2 separate regions of the Homo sapiens genome follow, and region 1 is linked to region 2. The links are contacts of gene promoters, found by promoter capture Hi-C in blood cells and fetal thymus (Javierre and others, 2016). All regions are on one chromosome and are shown on one strand. Each heading gives the region's core, a stretch centred on a gene start or on the middle of the fragment in contact. The rest is flanking DNA. Distances are from core to core; before and after follow the strand shown.

Evidence for each region. Contacts are between HindIII fragments. The CHiCAGO score rates a contact against its expected background, and 5 or more counts as called.
Region 1: a contact is called between a fragment that was not itself captured here and the fragment with the promoter of SERPINB5 in region 2, in 3 of 17 cell types (total CD8 T cells, activated CD4 T cells and M2 macrophages). The highest score is 6.0, in total CD8 T cells.

The regions. Positions count from the first base shown.
Region 1 is chr18:62,642,118-62,646,122 of GRCh38, forward strand. No RefSeq gene overlaps it. Among named protein-coding and RNA genes, the nearest start is that of PHLPP1, 71 kb to the right of the region's middle. The HindIII fragment of the contact is 3,728 bases long and covers 554-4,005 here.
Region 2 is chr18:63,475,127-63,479,440 of GRCh38, forward strand. SERPINB5 (serpin family B member 5) reads left to right here and starts at 1,832. Exons shown (of 7, transcript NM_002639.5): 1 at 1,832-1,919. RefSeq lists an enhancer at 581-1,780. The HindIII fragment of the contact is 5,766 bases long and covers 658-4,314 here.

The DNA of each region.
Region 1 (4,005 bases), core at 1,168-3,667, 830 kb before region 2:
TACCTTACATGGCAAAAGGGACTTCGCAGATGTGATAAAGTTAAGGTGGGAAGATTATTCTGGATAATTCAGGTGGGCCCAATGTAATCACAAGGATGCTGTTAAGAGGGACACAAGATGGTCAATGTTAGAAGAAATAAGGATGGAAGCAGAGTTGAGAGAGGAGAAAAAAATGTTGTTGTAGAAAAAGCCAAGTCCTGGTCACAGGACCAGGAGAGATTAGGCTCGCGGACATATAAAAGGGTAAGGAGTGGAATTTATTGGGTGAAAAGGAAAAAAACTCAGCAAAGTGAGAAGGGTTCCTGTTAACAGACCCCCATCTCACAGAATGAATCCCAGGTTACCACACAGGAACAGGAGAGGCTAGGCTCCTCCCCGCTGCAAATGGCACAAACTTCCCAAGGCTGCACCTCATCCTCCCAGTGCGCAGGCCAGTGGGAGGTTCTCTGGGTACCTTCCCCCTTATTTTCCTCCTGCATCTATCAATACTATGTTCTTGGCTTTGAAGATGGAAAAAGGGACCATGAACCAAGGAATATATGTGGCCTCTAGAAGCTTCAAAAGGCAAGGAATTGGATTCCCTTCTAAAGCCTCCAAAAGTAAAATAGTCCTGCAGACCCATTTTGGACTTCTGACCTCTAGAACTATAAGATAACAAATGTGTGTTATTTTAAGCCACTAAATGTATGCTCCTTTGTTACAACAACACTAGGAAACCAATAGATGCTCCAAACTGGAAATAGCCCAAATATCATGTGAGTAGAAGGAATAAATAAATAGTGGTCTATTTCTATAATGGAAAACCATACAGCAATTGAAATGAACAACTATAGCTTCATGCAACAATATGATGAATTCTCATAAAATGAGCTTGAGCAAAAAAGCCACATGCAAAAGAGTACACACCGTATGATCCCATTTATATGAAATGTAAAGCAAGTGACCTGCCCCCATGGCCTATTTGGGCATCTGGCAGGCAGGAGATTCAGTTGTGGAGGTGAATTCAGTCCTCTGGAGGCCCCAGTGGTGACGGCTCCTTGACCTTTAGGAACCTGGCAGTGCTAAGCCATCTGAATAAGATCATCTGAACAAGCACTGTTTGGAAATTCTTGTTTATATTAGGTTCTTGGCTTCTTTGAACACGTCTGTATTCAGAGGCAGTCCTCCATAAAACTCCGTAAAACTCAGCAATAGGATAATAGAAGGAAAGGTATTCCCTTTGATTACCTTTCAGAGCTGAATAATGGCCCGGGAAAGCTCACTGTTCAGCTTTCTTTCTAAACTGCCCAGCAGGAACCAGGCCCAAGGGTGGGGTTAGCACTTCCTCACATAATACAGGCCCTTTCAAGAAAGAATTTAAGGGAGTTTGGGCTGTTTTACAAGACTTAAGTCCTGAGAACAATTTCATAGAAGGTTGTAACTGACGGCTGTGCAAATGAAAGGTTTTGGAACGGGTCCTCCCTTAGGGAAAGCAGGGACACTGCTCCCGACTAGGGATCAGGCACCAGGTACAGGCAAAACCACTGCTTGCCTGGATGGGTACATTCCACTGAGTCCCCACATCTGAAAGAAACAAGGTGATTAAGAATCTCTGTGTTCAGTCCCAAACTATTTTACAGAAAAGTAAGTTTGGGGCTGGCATGGTGGCTCACACCTGTAATCCCGCCATTTTGGGAGGCTGAGGCAGGTAAATCTCCTAGCTCAGGAGTTCGAGACCAGCCTGGGCAACATGGAGAAACCCAGTCTGTACCAAAAATATAACAAATTAGCTGGCCATGATGGTGGGTACCTGTAGTCCCAACTACTCAGGAGGCTGAGATGGAAGGATTGCTTGGGCCTCGGACGCAAAGGTTGAAGTGAGCCGAGATTGCACCACGGCACTGCAACCTGGGTGAAAAAGTGAGACCCCATCTCAAAAAAAACAAAATTGGAGAATGAAAGTCACTGGGTGATGTAGACTTTCTCACATCTTCCACATGTAAGAAGTGGCCAAGTCTAGTAAAATGCATGCTCACCTGATACAGGGTGTGGGTTCCCAACAATCAGCCTCACCCATTTAACGCAGATGCTCCCTGACTTAGCCATAGGGCTATATCCAGATAAACTCAGCCTTAGTCAAAAATATCGTAAGTTGAAAATGCATTTACTATCCCAACAAACCCATTGTAAAGTCAAAAAATCCTAACTCAAGCCATGGTAATGATAGAGACAGGAGGCAGAGAAATTCTAGGCAGAAAAGGGTGGGGTCCCTGGTGAGAGCCCCACCTTCAAACCTGGAACCATGGCCCAAAGTGAGAACTTTACATCCCCAATTTCCTGCTCCAATGTTGCCTCTTCCAAAACCACCCCTGGCCCGCCCCCCATCCTGTACCCATAAAAACCCCAGGCTCCACTGGCAGAGGGCAGAGAAGCAGGGAAGGAGAGAAGAGAAGAAGCTGATGAATGTTGGAGAGAAGCAGTTTGACTTCAGAGGGATGGCTTGACGGTGGAATTTCAAAGAGTCTAGCCACAAACACAAATGGCCAGACTTCAGGGGAAGATTACCTTCCCACTCCATCCTCTTTCCAGCTCCCCTTCCTGCTAAGAACCACTTCCACTGGCAATAAAATCCCCCATGTTTACTATCCTTCAATTCATTCGTATGACCTGATTTTTCCTGGACACCAGACAACAGCTTGGGGTACAGAAAGCTGTCACAGTGACCCTCTGCCCTCGTGAAAAGGCAGAGGGTCCACTGAGCTGTTAAACACTTAAGCCGTCTGTGGACAGCCAAGCTCAAAGCGCTGCCTGTAATACATGCCCTCTGGGGCTTCAAGGGTCATGGGTACCACCCCCTGCAAGATGCTGCCGTGGGGCCTGCATGGAGTTTTGCACCTGCCAGCGCCTGAAAGCATTAACTCCAGCTCCTGCACCCACTCACCTGTGTGCTCCTCTTCCCACGAGGGGTTGAAAGCTGCAGGCTGAGTAAATGAGGCATCCTTGTCACAAGGCCCATGAAAGGGTCAGGGAAAATTTCCATTTTCAGTTAAGTTGGGACCATCTGGACTGCTTTTTGGCAGCTGGGCTGCCAACATACTCTTCTCAGACAGTTCTCTCTGCTGCCTCTCTTCTCTCTTTCCCAGGCCTGATTTATTCTGGATGGTTCAAGTTCCATCTGAGTACAATGTTCTCTAGAGTGGTCTATGGGGAGGCGGAGGCAAAGAGGATCACTTGAGGCCAGGAGTTCAAGACCAGCCTGCGCAACAGTAGTGCCACTCCTTCTCTACAAAAAATAAACATAAATTAGCAGGATGTGGTAGTGAGCATCTGCAGTCCCAGCTACTCGGGAGGCTGAAGCAGGAGCATTACTTGAACCCACACTTCAAGGCTGCAGTGAGCTATGATTGCACCACTGTACTCCAACCTGGGTGACAAGATACAGAGACCCTGTCTCTAAAAAAAAAAAAAAATACATATATATATATATATATATATATATATATATATATAGAGAGAGAGAGAGAGAGAGAGAGAGAGAGAGAGGACCAGGAGCAGTGGTGCACAACTGTAATCCCAGCACTGTGGGAGGCTGAGGTGGGTGGATCACCTGAGGTCAGGAGTTCGAGACCAGCCTAACATGGTGAAACCCCGTCTCTACTAAATACAAAAAATTAGCTGGGCATGGTAGTGCATGCCTATAATCCCAGCTACTCAAGAGGCTGAGGGAGGAGAGGCACTTGAACCTGGGAGGCGAAGGTTGCAGTGAGCTGAGATCATGCCATTGCACTCCAGCATGGGCAATAAGAGCGAAACTCTGTATCAAAAAATAAAAATAGAGTGTCTAGATATTTCTCCTGGAGATTAATTCACTTTCTTCCCTATTTATATAGTCATCTCATAGAATGTCATGTTGTTCCATGTTGTTGCAGAAAGACTACAGATTTACCTGCTTTTCCAGATTTGTTGGTAGTGTTTTCTACAATGCTGATCCTAACCCAAATTGTGATGGGAGACAGAGTTTTCTCT
Region 2 (4,314 bases), core at 582-3,081:
TCGCTTGAAATCTGTAGACCACAGTAGCAAGCACGAAGCAGGTATTCAATAAATGTGGTGAATTCAATGTCAATAACATGCTCCAGTCTTTTGTCCACTATTCCCCGAGCCTACCTAACCAATGGGCAAAGTGGTACTAATTGCCATCATTAGGAAGCACATGCTATGTGTCAGAAAGTATGTAAGAATTGTCTCTTCATCCATCTCTGTCTATATCTCATTTTATCGATCTTATTGACAAATGAGAACTATATATAGATCTCATTTTACAGATGAGGAATCTGAAGATAAAGGGATTAAGCAATTTGCTCAGGATTTCTCAAGCAATGAGTGGTTAGACTTAGTTTGCAAATTTATGACTCTGCTCCCAAATTCTCATTTTCCCTCCTACAGCTGGATAATAGAATTTTTAAGAAGCATCCTTCCACACCTCCTCACCTATGACCTTCCCTCCACTTGCTCCACTGATGCCTAAAATTCTGTTTTTGGAGTTCACTTAGTTTATGACTTTGATTCTGGTTAACATTAAAATACCCAGGACATGGGGGAGGGGAAGCTGTTATCAATCTTAGTTTAGTCAGTTAATATAGCGAGTTGCTCTTATTCATTACTCAACAAGCACTTATTGACTGCATACTGTACATCAGGTCTGTACCAAGCTTTGGTGTTATAAAAATGAATGAAGTTTGGCACTTACCTTTAACATTGTTGTAGTCACATATAGGAGAATGTAAGAGATTATTATGAAACAATGTAGTAAATGTACAATAGGGAATTCTAGATAAGCACAGCAGAGAAGCAACCAGCTCCGTTTCAGGTCCTTTCCTGAGACTGATTCGGCTGGAAGGGAGTAGGTCCCGCCAAATGAAGAAGCTGTGGGAAGACAGGAGGACAAGAACAGGCTCCACGAAGAGATTTCAGAGCAGAGCTGCGTACTCCTTTTTCTTTTTGTTTCTTTTGCTCTGTCACCCAGGCTGAAGTACAGTGGTTAGCTCACGGCTCACTGCAGCTTTGACCTCCCAGGCTCAAGTGATCCTCTCGTCTCAGCTTTCCAAGTAACTGGGACCACAGGCATGCATCACCACACTAGGCTATTGTTTTACATTTTTTGTAGAGATGGGGTCTCACCATGTTGCCCAGGTTGGTCTCAAACTCCTGGGCTCAAGCAATCCGCTCACGTCAACCTCCCCAAATGCTGGGATTACAGGCGTGAGCCACCGCGCCAGGCCTGAGTAATCCTAATCACAGGATTTTAAAAAGAAACTTCCTGCGCCACCCATTAAACAATATCTCCTACCAATTTGGTAGTAAATATTTTGCTAATAGTACCTAATTTTTAGGTAGGCACTGTGTTTATACATATATCCATTCCTTCTTTTTTGATTGTCTTTCTGTTTAATGGGCAGCTACCTCTCTTGGCATCTAGCAGAATGAGCTGCTGCAGTTTACACAAAAAGAATGGAGATCAGAGTACTTTTTGTGCCACCAACGTGTCTGAGAAATTTGTAGTGTTACTATCATCACACATTACTTTTATTTCATCGAATATTTCACCTTCCGGTCCTGCGTGGGCCGAGAGGATTGCCGTACGCATGTCTGTACGTATGCATGTAACTCACAGCCCCTTCCTGCCCGAACATGTTGGAGGCCTTTTGGAAGCTGTGCAGACAACAGTAACTTCAGCCTGAATCATTTCTTTCAATTGTGGACAAGCTGCCAAGAGGCTTGAGTAGGAGAGGAGTGCCGCCGAGGCGGGGCGGGGCGGGGCGTGGAGCTGGGCTGGCAGTGGGCGTGGCGGTGCTGCCCAGGTGAGCCACCGCTGCTTCTGCCCAGACACGGTCGCCTCCACATCCAGGTCTTTGTGCTCCTCGCTTGCCTGTTCCTTTTCCACGCATTTTCCAGGATAACTGTGACTCCAGGTAAGCAAGGTGGGGTAGCAGGGCTGGTGACTTCCTTTTTTCAGGGAAATTCATAAATATCGTTATTTGAGCTGATTTGAGATGGTGAACAAAATGGACTTAGGTCCATTTTGGGGCTGTTTTCAAAGACGGGCTGTTGGGTTGAGTACTGTCGCCTCTCATCCCCCATGTTGGCAGTATTTCCAGCTCCCAACCCTTTGAGCACCAGGAACACTGCAGAGGGAGTAAAATCACTTAACCATACAAGGTAAGAATATGAAGAAGTCACGTGGCTCGGAGGTTTTGGTGGTAGAGGGGTGCAACCGTGATTCACGGAGGAGAAAATACTTCTGAGGACATTTTCAGGCCTACTTTGGAACTCAGAATGAATTTTGCAATGCTAGTTTCAGAAAGGGTGTGGTACCCGCAAACTGGGGAAAGTTGAGAAGTATTGGTGGGTCTGGCTGGCTCTTCTCCCTGGCTGACGTTGTAAGGCTGAGATTTAGGCATATGGACTGCCCTTCTTTTTGGCATTTTTAAGCATCAGATCGCTGTTCATCTACTTGCAACTGCATTCTTCTAAGCGGAAATTATTCTCCCTTCAGTTTTCTGGGTTTCAGCATAACTTTAAACAAGTTACACATTTCAGATGCATATTCTTGGACTTATAAATTGTAATAGCTGCTTGTAGTTTCTTACTCATATGCTGTACACTTTTTCTTATGGCTTCATTTAAGCATATCATACTAAAAACCAACATGCCAGGCTATTCCAGAGACTTGTAACCAGATCCTCAGAGCTGGGGGCTCTTAGACATATTTCAGCCCAGCCCCCTCATTCTGTAGATGAGGAGCAGAACTCACAGAGGTGATCTGGTGTCCAAAGGCACACAGCTTGTAAGTAGCACCGCTGAGATCAAATCAGGCCTTCACACTTGCAGCTCGGGATGTTTCCACAACACCGTGGGTTCTGTTACCATCTTTTTCATCCCCTACATCTCCCGGGAGGTTTTCGATAATGGGTTCCAAACCTCAGTCCCTGTCAGTTAGTGTAAGTGTTCGATGAGTTCCTTCATGGGTGGAGATGAAGCCTGTCTGAGGAAAGGAGTCTCCAAAGGAAATGAGTCAGCAGGTTTATATCTTTGCTTCCTAACGCCTTGAATTGTGCCACTTCAATCCCTCTGGGTTGTGGATTGACTTTGGGGCTATGCAGTCTCAGCGATTTGGGCCATTCTGGTGTGGCTGAGTCTGGCTGTAAGTTTACTGCTTGGCAACAGTGGGCTGGGTCAGTGGTCAAGATCAGGCTTCTAAAGAGACAGGAGCAGCTATGATGCTTCAGAGCAAAGCAGACGCCCCCCTGCCATGGGAAATTAAAGCAATTACTAATAGCTGTATTGTACTTTCTTGCCCACAAAGCACTTTTCATATACATTGATTCACTTAATCACTTCGTTTAGTCCTCATAGTCTTTCACATTGCAGAAACTTCAAAATATCCTATTTTCTTAATCCTGCACATCCTTTGCTCCTCAAAGACTTAGAATGTGGACAACAGAGGTTGTGTTTTTTGGCATTCCATTACTGATATTATAATAGGCAAGGTTTCTCATGGCATTCCCTAAGGACTGGTTATACCAAATACTTGAGAGATGTTTTTCACCATGTCTTTCCATCTTTAAAATGAGGCAGGCCAGGCTAAATGATATCTACGATACTCTGACACAGTAAAAACGTAGTTTTTTTTTTTTTTTTCTTGAGATGGAGTCTTGCTTTGTCACCCAGGATGGAGTGCAGTGGCACGATCTTGGCTCACCGCAACCTCACCCTCCCAGGTTCAAGTGATTTTTCTGTCTCAGCCTCCCAAGTAGCTGGGATGACAGGCACGTGCCACCACGCCCGGCTAATTTCTATATTTTTGGTAGACACAGGGTTTCACCATGTTGGCCAGGCTGGTCTCGAACTCCTGACCTCAAGTGATCTGCCCGCCTTGGCCTCCCAAAGTGCTGGGATTACAGGTGTGAGCCACTGTACCCGGCCAAAAGTTAAGGTTTTAAGGGATGAAAAAACTATACTCATAGCTCTGTTTAAATATGCACGCCCGTGATGTGTGGGTGAAGAGTGTGGTTGATGGTCTATAAGTAAAATGAACATATATTGTTCAAATCAGGATATGTTTGAGAGTAAACGGGGCACTGTTATCAATGTCAAGACAACAGACATAAACCAGGATTGTCCCAGGCAAAGTGGGATGTATATATCCTACCCACAGGACTTTTTTCTCACCTAAATGGTCTAAAGACAAAAAATGTGAGGACCATTGGCTCAGATGCATAAAAAACTTAGGAAATCTTCATACAAAGACCAGTGACAAGCTATAAGTCTAGAGAAGTGAGCACGGCCCTACCCCCAGCCCAGTAC